Regions from separate parts of the Homo sapiens genome. Here region 2 is linked to region 1. Evidence: promoter capture Hi-C in 16 types of primary human blood cells and fetal thymus (Javierre and others, 2016). All regions are on one chromosome and are shown on one strand. The core of a region is centred on a gene start or on the middle of the fragment in contact, and the rest is flanking DNA. Distances in the headings are between cores, read along the strand shown. Region 1 holds the start of CD99 (CD99 molecule (Xg blood group)). Region 2 overlaps PPP2R3B (protein phosphatase 2 regulatory subunit B''beta).

Evidence for each region. The method cuts DNA at HindIII sites, captures the fragments that hold promoters and counts their contacts. A CHiCAGO score of 5 or more calls a contact.
Region 2: a fragment that was not itself captured here is called in contact with the fragment with the promoter of CD99 in region 1 in 1 of 17 cell types (fetal thymus); the score reaches 5.9 in fetal thymus.

What each region holds. Positions count from the first base shown.
Region 1 is chrX:2,685,809-2,693,061 of GRCh38, forward strand. CD99 (CD99 molecule (Xg blood group)) reads left to right here and starts at 5,487. Exons shown (of 10, transcript NM_002414.5): 1 at 5,487-5,619. The coding sequence starts at 5,553. The HindIII fragment of the contact is 9,076 bases long and covers 1,322-7,253 here.
Region 2 is chrX:372,706-379,685 of GRCh38, forward strand. All of the region lies in intron 1 of PPP2R3B (protein phosphatase 2 regulatory subunit B''beta), which reads right to left. Among named protein-coding and RNA genes, the nearest start is that of PPP2R3B, 11 kb to the right of the region's middle. RefSeq lists a silencer at 268-450 and an enhancer at 2,445-3,335. The HindIII fragment of the contact is 1,936 bases long and covers 593-2,528 here.

The DNA.
Region 1 (7,253 bases), core at 4,237-6,736:
AAAGATGCACTTATCATTGGAAGTGGTTCTTTCTGACAGCTCCCCTGCCCCGATGCTTTCCTTCCTGTTCCATGGAGTTCCATGTTCTGTGCTGTGTAGTTTGATTTTCAGTCCTCCTTTGAATTCTGCAGCTGTGTATTTAGACCCATTTCCCAGGCCAGTAAACAAAGCCCCGTGGGCAAGAAACCACAGATCCCCCCATAGAAAGTGGGAGAAAATGCCAGTGTGCAATAGTGTGTGCATGTGTGTGTGTGTGTACGTGCATGTATGTGTGTGTGTATGCATGTGTGTGTGTGTGCATGCATGTGTATGTGTGTGCATGCAGATGGAATATAATTATAACCTGCGTGTGTGTGCAGTATAAAATATATAAAACTGGTTTGGAGAGCAGGGTATGAAAAGTCCAAAGTCAGAAGAACTAATCCTTGGCTGTGGGTGGTGGCTCATACCTGTAATACCAGCACTTCGGGAGGCCGAGGCCGGCAGATCAGTTGAGGTCAGGAGTTCGAGACCAGCCTGGCCAACGTGGTGAAACTCCATCTCTACTAAAAATACAAAAATTAGCCAGGCGTGGTGATGGGTGCCTATAGCCGTAGCTACTCAGGAGACTGAGGCACAAGGATCGCTTGAACCTGGGAGGTGGTGAGCTGAGATCGTGCCACTGCACTCCAGCCTGGACAACAGAGTGACACTCTGTCTCAATAAATAAATAAATAGAAGAAGAACTAATTCTTAAAAATTAAAGACACATGGAAGGTTTCCGCAGGAGGCTGGGAGCTACCAAGGGTTAGGTTGAAATGTGCAACGTGGCCACGTGGGTCCCTCGGAAATGGTCAGAACATGGTTATTTCTTGAGGTTCCACTGGTGAAATAAACGGGAAACATGGAGGCTGCCCCAGCAGTGAGTTCCCCATCCCTTCTTCAGCCTAGTTTGTGGCCTTCAAAAGATGCTTCCCGTGGCACCTGGATACAATTCAGAAGGCTTTTTCAATTAATTTAATTTTCATTCTGGAGGTTACGGCCTCTTGGTGCCAGTTCCAGAGGGTCTGCAGAATATTATGGAAATTCATATTTGGAGCCAAAGAATGGCAGCGTTAAAAAAAAATAAAGAAAAAAGGCAAAAGGCATCTAACTAAATGAATTAGAAACAGAAGTCTTCCAAATGCTTACCTGTGAGAACATAGATAAAAAGCCTCAAAGCCTGGCTTTCAGAAGCTGATGTTGCATCTTTATTATGGCTGGCGAGAATGACCTGCGCCCTCCCTGAAAGGCAGCCAGAGTCTAGACTCTACTGGAACATAATGGACAGTCAGAGGAGGGAAGCTTCACCTGCAGTGCCGTCCAAATGTCAGAGGCTGGAGATGGTCCAGGGGAGGGCCTTTCTTTTGGCGGTAATGGGGGTGAAGCAGGAAGCTCACAGGGAGAGGGGTGTTTGGAGTGTGAGACAGCAGGAAGACCCTGCGTTCTTTTTATCTCTGCTTCATCCCAAGTCAGACTTGCCTCAGGATGCCAAAATGCCCGGGCAGCTCCAGCATCCTCTTGCTCCTCAAAATGAGCCCCCAGGGTCCTCCTACTTGCCCTGACCTAGGATCCACACCCTCCCTTGACCCCAGCCCAGGACTGTGGCCAGGGAAAAAGAAAGTGCTAATTGATAGAGAGTCAATGCCACGTGGGGAGGTCGGGGGAGAGGTGCAGGAGAAAATACCAGAGAAGGAGCTCTGGTTGGGTAGTTCATCCGGGTTCACTCCAAGAGGTAACACTTTAAAGGTGGTGTTCCCATGAAGAACGATTACATTTTCCTCATACTTCTAAAGTGCAATTATGTTGCTGGGGTTTTGCTGGCCGAAAAGAAAACGAAAAAGAAAAGAAAAAACCTTCCGGTGTGCAAGCTCACACTGTTACTTTTTAAGATGTGCATCACTCACACCACCGAGCTCACATTGCTGAGCAGGTCTCTGGGGCACAGGCCCAGCCCCTCTAGCCTTGCAGGTTTCTGACCTAGGGGTGCAGGTGACCTAGGGAGGGGTGGGTATGGCCGCAGGCAGGGGATAGCTCAAGACCATTTGACCCAGCAATCCCATTACTAGGTATATACCCAAACGATTATAAATCATTCTACTATAAAGACACATGCACACGTATGTTTTTGCAGCACTAGTCACAATAGCAAAGACTTGGAACCAACCCAAATGTCCATCAATAATAGACTGGATAAAGAAAATGTGGCACATATACACCATGGAATATACGCAGCCATAAAAAAGGATGAGTTCATGTCCTTTGCAGGGACACGGATGAAGCTGGAAACCATCATTCTCAGCAAACTATCACAGGAACAGAAAACCAAACACCGCATGTTCTCACTTATAAGTGGGAGTTGAACAATGAGAACACATGGACACAGGGAGGGGAACATCACACACCAGGGCCTGTTGGGGGGTGGGGTGCAATGGGAGAGAGAGCATTAGGAGAAATACCTAATGTAGATGATGGGTTGATGGGTGCAGCAAACCACTATGGCGTGTGTATACCTATGTAACAAAACTGCACGTTCTGCACATGTACCCCAGAACTTTTTTTTTTTTTTTTTGAGACGGAGTCTTGCTCAGTCGCCCAGGCTGGAGTGCAGTGCCACGATCTCGGCTCACTGCAAGCTCTGCCTCCCGGGTTCACGCCATTCTTCTGCCTCAGTCTCCTGAGTAGCTGGGACTACAGGCGCCCGCCACCACGCCCGGCTAATTTTTTTTTGTATTTTTAGTAGAGATGGGGTTTCACCATGTTAGCCAGGATGGTCTCAATCTCCTGACCTCGTGATCCACCTGCCTCGGCCTTCCAAAGTGCTGGGATTACAGGCGTGAGCCACCGCGCCCAGCCTGTACCCCAGAACTTAAAGTATAATAATAACAATAATAAAAAGACAGGTGTTATCTCAGAGCCCCTGACTCAGTCGGCTGGGCAGCAAGTATGCCAGCCCAGGAATGGGCCAATAGATGAGGCAGGGCTTTGTAAACCAAAAATAAAATTCTTTAAGAGGCTGGAGTGGGTGGATCACTTGAGGTCAGGAGTTCCAGACTAGCCTGGCCAACATGGCGAAACCCCATCTCTACTAAAAATATAAAAATTAGCCAGGCGTGGTAGCAGGTGCCTGTAATCCCAGCTACTCAGGAGGCTGAGGCAGGAGAATCGTTTGAACCTGGGAGGTGGAGGTTGCAGTTAGTTGAGATGGTGCCACAGCACTCTAGCCTGGCCGAGAGAGTAAGACTCCGTCTCAAAAACTAAATAAATTAATAAAATAAAATAAAATTCTAAGCCCCCACCGCCCCCCACCTTCAAAACATCTGAATGGACTTCTTCCTCAGCCAGAGCTCTTTAAAAATTTAACCTGAGAGAGTGTTTCAAGCCGTGACGGGAAGCAGGGGTTGAACATGCCTCCCGGTGCCTCTCCGGCGTTAACATCCACACAGCCTTTAAGTTTGAGAAGAAACATTTTACAACCTCTTCTCTCTGACCCTAGCACCGGAAGGGTTCCTGTTCAAATAAGAACTTGAGTCTTCACAATTCTTTATCTTAACCCAGACATTCTTTTCTATTGATCCCAGGACTTTAAAGAAACCCAAGCAATTGCCAATCAGAAAATTCTAAAATCTACCTATAAGCTGGAAGCCTCCTGCTTTGGGTTGTCCCGCCTTTCTGGACAAAACCAATGTGTCTCTTAAATTTCATTGATGTCTCATGCCTCCCTAAAACGTATAACACCAAGCTGCACCCCGACCACCTTGAGGACACGTTCTCGGGACCTCCTGAGGGCTGTGTCATGGGCCATGGTCACTCATATTTGGCTCAGAATAAATCTCTTCAAATATGTTAGAGTTGGACTCCTTTCTCTTTTTTTCTTTTTTCTTTCTTTTTTTTTGAGACGGAGTCTCGCTCTGTCACCCAGGCTGGAGTGCAGTGGCCTGATCTTGGCTCACTGCAACCTCCATCTCCCCGGTTCAAGCGATTCTCTTGCCTCGGCCTCCTGAGTAGCTGGGACTACAGGTGCACACCACCACACGCGTCTAATTTTGTATTTTAGAAGAGACAGGGTTTCACCTTGTTGGTCAGGCTGGTCTCCAATTCCTGACCTCAGGTGATCCACCCGCCTCGGTCTCCCAAAGCGCTGGGATTCCAGGCGTGAGCCACCGCGCCCGGCCTAGTTTGACTCTTTTCGTGGACAGTTTGAAGTGTGGAATGCAAGAATATTCAGGGTTATTTGTCAGGCTGCAAAGTTGTTCCACTACCCTGCGGGAAAATGGATACAATTTTAGGCTTAGGTGTTAACAGATAACATTGTTAAGTGTGGGAAGGGCGACAACTGCACTGCAGCTGTGGCCAGTGGCGCGGGAGGGTGTCTAAACTCAAAGCCCACTGGAAGGCGAGTCGCCCATGACCAGGACTAGGGCCCAGGTGCCCCAGATAGAAGGCACCTCGTTCCCTATTGCCCCTCACTAACTCCCGTGACCAGGAGTCCCCACTCCCAACCTTGTCCTGGGGATTCTGGGGAGAAACTGCCCCAGCGCAGAGGCTACTCCAAGGGTTGTCCTTGGTCCGGCGCAAAGGGTTCGTCCGCCACCCTCCCGGCTGCGCACCCCGCGCTCGGACGCTCTAGAAAGGACTTGGGACGGGGGTTGCCTGTGGAGCGGGGGCCTAGGCTTCCTGAGCAGGGAGAGGATTGCACTTTGCTCCCCTTGGGGAACTCCCTGAGGTGAGCAGCGGGGAGGGGCCCCCATACTTTTCCCAGCAGGGGAGCCGGGAGTTTCCTCTGCTCCCACTGCAGAGCAGGGGAGGGTCCCTGCTAGGGGCGGAGAAGGGGCTGCAGGGGCGAGTGGGGAGGGGGGCTACACGTTTCCAAGAAGGGCGGCAGTTTCGTGTCGCTACAGTTGCAGGCGTGCATTTAGGAGGCTGTAGACAGGGAGGGACCCGCACTTTCCCGAGCAGGGGAGCTGCTGGGAAAGTTTGTTTTTTTGCTCCCACTGGAGACCAGGGGGTGAGGGGCGGAGAAGTGGCTGCAGGGGCGAGTGGGGAGAGGGGGCTCTATGTTTCCAAGAAGGGCGGCAGTTTTGTGCCACTACAGTTAAGGGCCGCCCTCGGGCGTGCATTCAGAGGGCTGTAAACCGGGAGGGACCCGCACTTTCCCGAGAACGTTGTAGTTCACTTTGCTTCGGGTCGGCGCCGCCCTGGCTACGGCCCTGTGGGTGGGTGAGGGGGCGTGGGCAGTTTCCTGAGAAGGGGCGGGGCGTGTACCGTACTCCCCTCGGCGCTGCCTGGGCCACCCCCGCCCGCCTACCCCCTCTGTCTCCTCCCCGGGCCCGGCGTTCCCGCCCCTTCTGTGCGCGCGTGGAGGCCGGGGCGGGGCGGGCGCAGCCGGCGCTGAGCTTGCAGGGCCGCTCCCCTCACCCGCCCCCTTCGAGTCCCCGGGCTTCGCCCCACCCGGCCCGTGGGGGAGTATCTGTCCTGCCGCCTTCGCCCACGCCCTGCACTCCGGGACCGTCCCTGCGCGCTCTGGGCGCACCATGGCCCGCGGGGCTGCGCTGGCGCTGCTGCTCTTCGGCCTGCTGGGTGTTCTGGTCGCCGCCCCGGGTGAGCGAGCGGAGGGATCCGGGTTGGGGGACGCGGAGGGCGCGGGCCGGGACTGGGGATCCGCTTGAGATGCGGCGTTGGGGGCGCCCCGCGGGGACACCCGGAGCCTCCTCCCTGCCCGGCAGGACGCGCTGTGCCCACGGGGGCCCAGGCCCGGAGGAGGCGCCCACTTTCTCCCCAACGCTTTTCCTGGAGCCGTTCCAGAGAGAAAAGTCAGCGTTTGTTGTCGGAGTTGCAAACTCTTACATGTGGGGCGGCCTTGGGAGAGGTGCGTCCGATTTTTCCCAATCTAGGGGACCTTCTTACAGATCTCTCTCCCTTTGCATGAGCCCCTCACCCCACCCCGTTATCTACCCCCAGGGTTTGGGGACCTGCGTCTTCAGGCCGCGCGCGGAGGCCGCCCTGGAGTTGCCTGTCACAGCCACGCCCTGCGTCCCGGGCCTAAATTTGGAATCGCTAGGAGCCTGAGACCCGGGTGGTGGGGGGAAGGGAAGGAAAAGTTAGAAAAAAACTTTGAGCCCTGAAAATGTTCAAAAATACTCTGTGGATGCGGGCTCCGGGAATTTCAGCGCGTGCTGTGCGCCAAGCAACACGGGGCGCAGAAAGAAACGTGTGCTTACCAAATTGTCCATCTGCGGCGGTGGAGAATTCGGAAAACAGAAAAAGTGGGCAGGGAAGAAAGAGCCACGGTCACCCTCCCACGCCCTAAACCGGGCCTATTTCTAATTATTACTTTAATCATGTTTTTCTGTTTCCCTCCCTTTGAAACGGAAACGGAGACCCTGCCGGATGTGGTATGTTATAAATTCTTTTTTCATGTTATAAATTCTTTTTTCAATGGTCAGTGCATTTTTTGCTCTTCGTATGGGCAGGCTTTTAAGTAGACCGGCTTGCGGGCAGTGTGGACTTCAGGACGGGCCTTATCAGGGCTGGACGTATTTAGGAAGGAGACGCGGGAACGCCCGGCCCTGGGGAGGACGGAGGAGGCCCGATTTGTGTTGATAGGATCTAGCTCAGCCTAGAGCTGCGGTGACTAGGCCGGGTCTCTATTTTTAGGGAGGAGTTGCTAATGGATTTACACCCTCTTTAAAGGGGTCCCGGGTATCCTAGAAATTGTGCTTTCACTTGGTAGAGATTAGAGATAATGAAGCCTGCTCCGTAGAGGAAAACTTGGAGGACTTTCCAGCCTGCAGGGGAGGTTCCAAGCAGAGCTTCCTGTTTCTCCCTTTTCTTCCTAAATGTCCTTCTTGCGGGCAACCTGTCACCACGGACGGGATGGCTCTGTAGGGTTTTATCAGCTGCATTTGTTCCCCAGGCACCTGCAGATGAACGGGTTTTTCACTTGTCTCTCTGCGAATGCATTCCTTCATCCTTCATGCCTGCCTTCCTTCTTTTGCACCTACTGTGGGCTTGGGGTCAGGGAAATATATCCAAGGGAGTGCTGGTGGCCTAAGAATTCAGTTTCCTGGAGAACAGAGGCATCTGAACAGGCAGACGGGAGACAGGGCCACAGGGACCTTTATAGTTCCATCACGAAATAACTCAGGGGTTCCCAGTGGTAAATCTTGGTGAGGGGCTTGGCTGGATTTTGAAGCCCTAGGGACAGATTTGCCGGCTGGTCTGGCGTTCCAGGT
Region 2 (6,980 bases), core at 311-2,810, 2.3 Mb before region 1:
CCCAGCACTTTGGAAGGCCCAGGTGGGCGATCACCTGAGGTCAGGAGTTCAAGACCAGCCTGGCCAACATGGTGAAACCCCGTCCCTACTAAAAATGCAAAAATTAGCCCTACTCGGGAGGCTGAAGCAGGAAAATCACTTGAACCCAGGAGGTGGAGGTTGCAGTGAGCCGAGATAGCGCCGCTGCACTCCAGCCTGGGAAACAGAGAGGCTTCGTCTCAAATAAATAAATATAAATAAATAAATTTCAAAGCCACTGAGTTACTGAATAAAACCACGCTGCATAAATAGTCCGGTATGTGAGTGATATCTCAACCGACTCTTAAGTTAGCCAGTGGGAAGGAATGCTGGGTATTGCAATAACGCCGGGAAAGTTTCACCCACCCGACGCCTTTACGAAGGGTGAAGGAGTTTCCCGATGTTTATTACCAGCAATGCAAGGTATATTTAAATTAAAAATCTGTCTGCAGCGAACACTCCCAGGCGCTGACGGCTCTCACCCGCCTTGGTTGATCACAGCAAGGCGCGCACTCACAGCCAAAACTCCCGGGAAAGGAGCGAGTGCTCTTTTCAAAGCCCGGTTTTCCTAACAAGCTTGGCACCGCTTCCCACAGAGCAGCACCCGGTTTTCGGCGGCGTGCGGCCCGAGCGGGTCCCCTGCGCCCACAACTGGCCCTGTAAATCTGGCGTTTGGGCCCCGCCACGCAACAACGGGTGCACGGCCAGCAGCGGCGAGCGGGGGCCCACGCGGGGCCGGGAGGGCAGGGCTCGCCGGGCCGGGAGGCCTCGCCCGGTGTCGGGCAGCCGCGGGGCGCGCGGGGCTGACCTGCTGGAAGGCCTTCAGCCGCTTCTTGAACCGAGAGGGCAGCACGAAGTCGCAGCCGCGGGCCAGTGAGGCCAGCTCCTGGCGCAGGTCGGGGTCCTGGCGCAGCGAGCGCTCGCGGAGTCGCATGCCGCCGGCGCGCAGGGCTCTCCGCGGGCCGGGCCGGGCGCCGCGCTCTCGGGGCAGGGCCGGGCCGGGGCCGGCGGGGCGCTGCAGGCGTGGCCCGGGCTCAGCGCGCTCCATGCGTCGCCCGCCAGGCGCTCTGGGGCCGGGGCCCGCGCCGCGCGCATTCCTCAGGCTGAGGAGGGCGCATGGCGCCGGGGGTGGGGGCGGCCGCCTCTCCCGACCCGCGACTGTGCAGACCCGGCTGCTCCCGGCGCTGCTCTCCTCTCCTCCTTCTCCGCTCCCTGCACTGCCCTCCGCTCCCTCCGGTCCTCTTCTCTCCTCTCCCCGTTCGCTCCGGGCTGGGCCGTCCGGCCGGGCAAGGGGGCGCTTTCTGCACCGCGGCAGCCGTCACGTGGCTCGCCCTGGAGCGCGCATCAACAGGTCCCCGAGAGGAGAGCCTGGGCGGAACGCGCATCAACAGGTCCCCGAGAGGAGAGCCTGGGCGGAACGCGCATCAACAGGTCCCCGAGAAGAGAGCCTGGGGACGGCCTCGGGGACCCAGGCGAAGGCGCTCCCCGCGAGAAGTGAGGTCCCCCCCCTCCACGACAACACCAGAGCTGGCTGCAGGCTCGGTGCCGACTCCGGCTTGCCCCTCCAGAGCACAGGGCACGCCAGGTGCAGCTGCGCCTCCACAAACACGCACGGCAGCCCAGACATCCCGGCAGCCCGGCATCAAAGCGCGCCGGCATCTCCGCCCCTCCCCAAACTTCAGGAGTTTCTAGAATACAGCTAAGCTGCAGTGGGCATCCAGGATCTCGTCTTCTCTGCCACTGCTCACTGTGATAACTGCGCTTGTTTGCAATCGTATTTAGAACAAGAAAAGAGGGGCGGTGGAAAAGGGGGACGGGCAACTTTAAATGAGGGTGAGCTGACATTCCGGGGGCCTGCACCTCGATCCCACCGGGAAGGAGACAGGATACCTTCGGGCTGAGGGTCAGAAACTGGCCACATCCCTGCCAGGCTGAACGCTGTCAGCAGAAAGCCTCCCGGGTCCCCGATCAGGAAGGTCCTGCGTGACCGCCTGCATCTGTTACAGTCAATAAACCTCCTTGGACGGGTCACTATCACCCCGAGTCAACAGCGTGCACTGGGCTCTCCCGCTGCCGCACGCTCTGTTGAGTCTGGAAAAACGCAGGATGACACGGATCTACCACTGTGGGGTCACGCAGAGGAGTTTCCCTGCCCTGAAAAACGTCTGTGTGGCACTGACGCACCCAACCCCCGCAAGCCCCGATCTGTTTCCTGTCTCCATCGTTTTCCTTTTTCCGAGTGTCCTAGACTTGGAACCAGAAGTCTGCAGCCATCTCAGACTGGCCTTTTCTTCTCCTGCAACCTTCCACACCACCTCTGACGCCCACCACAGCCCCCCACCCGCAAGGCCCCTTCCAACTCTTCTTAGGGGTACGCCCCTCTCCACTTCCTTCTCTTCCACCTCCTTCCCTTCTCCAGCCATCCTCGGATCCCTCCATCCTTCTCACTTCCTTACTGTCCTTGAGGATTCAGAAGTCGGCCTCTGACCCCCGGTAAGTCTCCAAAGGGAAGCTTTAAGACAGCACCAGAGGGAATGTGCTCAAACCACCAGGAGACGATTTAAACAAGTGCACCCAGTAACCCACGATGCGGGGCGCAAACTCACAGGGCAGAGGTGCCGCCCAGTCACCCACGATGCGGGGCGCAAACTCACAGGGCAGAGGTGCTGCCCAGTCACCCACGATGCAGGATGCAAACTCACAGGGCAGAGGTGCCGCCCAGTCACCCACGATGCAGGATGCAAACTCACAGGGCAGAGGTGCGGCCCAGTAACCCATGATGTGGGGCACAAACTCACAGGGCAGAGGTGCCGTCCCGTCACCCACGATGCGGGGCGCAAACTCACAGGACAGAGGTGCCGCCCAGTCACCCACGATGTGGGGCGCAAACTCACAGGGCAGAGGTGCCGCCCCTTCAGTTCATATCAGCACTACACACGGACGGCCTCCCAAACGCAGCTAGGGGAACCAGATTGGGAGCCAACCTCCTGTGATCTCCCTCCGAAAGTCAAAGATCAAACCCAAAATGCGGGGGAAGCGAGCCAACGGGCGCGATCCTCACACTCAGGCAACATGCCCTGTCCTGCCACGCCAGGTGACACACGCCCTGTCCTGCCACGGCGGGTGACACACACCCCTGTGGACTTTACTGCCAGGTTTCCTCTTTCCGTACAAGACTTTTGGAACACAGCCAGGCACAGTGGCTCATGCCTGTAATCCCAGCACTTTGGGAGGTCAAGGCAGGCAGATCATGAGGTCAGGAGTTCGAGACCAGCCAGGCCAACATGGTGAAACCCTGTCTCTACTAAAAATACAAAATTAGCTGGGCATGGTGGCGGGTGCCTGTCATCCCAGCTACTTGGGAGGCTGAGGGAGAAGAATCGCTTGAACTCAGAAGGCAGAGGTTGCAGTGAGCCGAGATTGCGCCACTGCACTGCAGCCTGGGGGACAAGAGCGAGACTTCGTCTCAAAAAGGAAAAAAAAAAAAAAAAGACTTTTGGAAAACAGCCTCAAAATCCTGAAGTGCACACATAGGCAGAGATTTAGACTCTGACCTGGAGCCCTCGAACCACCTCTGGATGCAGTCCCACTGCCCCCCTGGAGCCCTTGCGTCCTGTCCCGATGCAGAACCCGCACCACCCGCCCCCAGTGCAGCCACAGGGCTGTCTACACCGGATGGGGGAGGGACAGGGCTGTCCACACTCGACAGAGCCCCCATGGGGCCATCCACTACCGTGTACAGGGACGGGCCGTCCACAGTGGGGCCGCCATGGGGCTGTCTATACACTACTGTATGCAGGGACGGGCCGTCCACACCCAGTGGGGCCGCCATGGGGCTGTCTATACACTACTGTATGCAGGGACGGGCCGTCCACACCCAGTGGGGCCGCCATGGGGCTGTCTATACACTACTGTATGCAGGGACGGGCCATCCACACCCAGTGGGGCCACCATGGGGCTGTCTATACACTACTGTGTACAGGGACGGGCCGTCCACACCCAGTGGGGCCACCATGGGGCTGTCTATACACTACTGTGTACAGGGACGGGCCGTCCACAGTGGGGCCGCCATGGGGCTGTCTATACACTACTGTATACAGGGACGGGCCGTCCACAGTGGGGCCGCCATGGGGCTGTCTATACACTACTGTATGCAGGGACGGGCCGTCCACACCCAGTGGGGCCGCCATGGGGCTGTCTATACACTACTGTATGCAGGGACGGGCCGTCCACACCCAGTGGGGCCGCCATGGGGCTGTCTATACACTACTGTATGCAGGGACGGGCCGTCCACACCCAGTGGGGCCGCCATGGGGCTGTCTATACACTACTGTGTACAGGGACGGGCCGTCCACACCCAGTGGGGCCACCATGGGGCTGTCTATACACTACTGTATGCAGGGACGGGCCGTCCACAGTGGGGCCGCCATGGGGCTGTCTATACACTACTGTGTACAGGGACGGGCCGTCCACACCCAGTGGGGCCACCATGGGGCTGTCTATACACTACTGTATGCAGGGACGGGCCGTCCACAGTGGGGCCGCCATGGGGCTGTCTATACACTACTGTGTACAGGGACGGGCCGTCCACACCCAGTGGGGCCGCCATGGGGCTGTCTATACACTACTGTATGCAGGGACGGGCCGTCCACAGTGGGGCCGCCATGGGGCTGTCTATACACTACTGTGTACAGGGACGGGCCGTCCACACCCAGTGGGGCCACCATGGGGCTGTCTATACACTACTGTGTACAGGGACGGGCCGTCCACAGTGGGGCCGCCATGGGGCTGTCTATACACTACTGTGTACAGGGACGGGCCGTCCACACCCAGTGGGGCCACCATGGGGCTGTCTATACACTACTGTGTACAGGGACGGGCCGTCTACAGTGGGGCCGCCATGGGGCTGTCTATACACTACTGTATGCAGGGACGGGCCGTCCACACCCAGTGGGGCCGCCATGGGGCTGTCTATACACTACTGTGTACAGGGACGGGCCGTCCACACCCAGTGGGGCCACCATGGGGCTGTCTATACACTACTGTGTACAGGGACGGGCCGTCCACACCCAGTGGGGCCACCATGGGGCTGTCTATACACTACTGTATGCAGGGACGGGCCGTCCACACCCAGTGGGTCCGCCGTGGGGCTGTCTATACACTACTGTGTACAGGGACGGGCCATCCACACCCAGTGGGGCCACCATGGGGCTGTCTATACACTACTGTATGCAGGGACGGGCCGTCTACAGTGGGGCCGCCATGGGGCTGTCTATACACTACTGTGTACAGGGACGGGCCGTCCACACTTGACAGGACCACCACAGGGCTGTCTATACACTACTGTGTACAGGGACGGGGCCGTCATAGCATTGTTTTTGCACCACAGGCCAGCACGGAATCTGCGAGGCCTGTTTTCAGCCTGTTCCCCCCAAATTCCTACTCTGAAGAGACAACATTGCCATCTGGGCCGATGAAGCCCCTCACGGCACCCGAATCTCCACCGTCCCTCTGCTGTCGGGACACAATCTTACCATCAACCTCTAAAGGCTCCTAAAATGCCCAGAAGACCTTTATGCAAAATTTTCATAAAAATCTCTTCACTTTTCATTCTCACTAAACATACATTTGTTCAGACGGCTTGTTTTAGGATAAAAATGTGTCTTCCATGAGCAAACATAATGGCTTTTCTGAAATCCCAGATTTGAAAGGCTTACGAAGGCGACCTGCCCTTTGTGAGAAAAAGTTTTTCTGAACATCCAAAGCTAAAAGCATAGCTAGTAACAGGCAAGCCTATGAGACAGGAAGATGGCCCAGAATCCTGTCCTCACCCTGCAGGTGCCGTCTGCAGAGCACGGCTTCCTCCCTGTTTCAAAGGCCCTGAGAGGACAGGCTCCAGCGGATTCAAAACCCGTCCACCTCATCTCAGGAAACGGCATGGTTCTCTCTGTCAACAGAAGGGGAGGGAGGGATGAAGCTCTTTACACAGTTTCCATGGTTGCAGATTCTCGGAGGTTGCAAGAAGGGTTTTCGACACCTTCCTTCCTCCTCACAACGAGACTCTCATCGGTGCCCACTATGAAAACGTGAATAGGTCGTTGTTACGAAGGCAGTGAGAACTGAACGCAGACAGGCACGCACCTGTACAAAAGCTACAGTCCCTGGGCAAGCTCAAGGCTCCCGCACGAAACCTTCAGAAACCCTGAGCTCCTGCCCTGAGGGTTCTAGGTGCTTTTGTCTTACAACATGTTTGTTAAGAACTTCTAATGAAACGTTAAGATAACCACACCTGTATGTACATGCACCTGTGTGTGTGTATGCACCTGTGTGTTTGTGTGTATGCACCTGTGTGTGTGTATGCACCTACGTGTGTGTGTATGCACCTGTGTGTGCACCTGTGTGTATGCACCTATGTGTGTGTATGCACCTATGTGTGCATGTACCTGTGTGTATGGACCTATGTATGTGTGTATGCGTGTGTATGCACCTGTGTATGCACCTGTGTGTATGCACCTATGTGTGTGTGTGTGTATGGACCTATGTATGTGTATGCACCTGTGTGTATGTATCTGTGTGTATGGACCTATGTATGTGTGTATGCGTGTGTATGCACCTGTTATGCACCTGTGTGTATGCACCTATGTGTGTATGTACCTGTGTATGCACCTATGTGTGTATGCACCTATGTGTGTATGCACCTGTGTTTGTGCATATGCACCTGTGTGTGTGTATGCACCTGTGTGTTTGTGTGTATGCACCTGTGTGTGTGATGCACACGCACGCCCGTGTTTATCTCCAAATACCCTGTTCTAATGTTCTAGAATGCTGGCACCCGGTCTGATAAAAATCACAGGTTAGGTGGACACCAAAACTGAGTAGCTTCCAGAAATTAGAGAAGAACTAAATAAACAGATAGAAACTTAATCAAGGAGGTGCAAGAGGTGTACCCGGGGAAGTACACA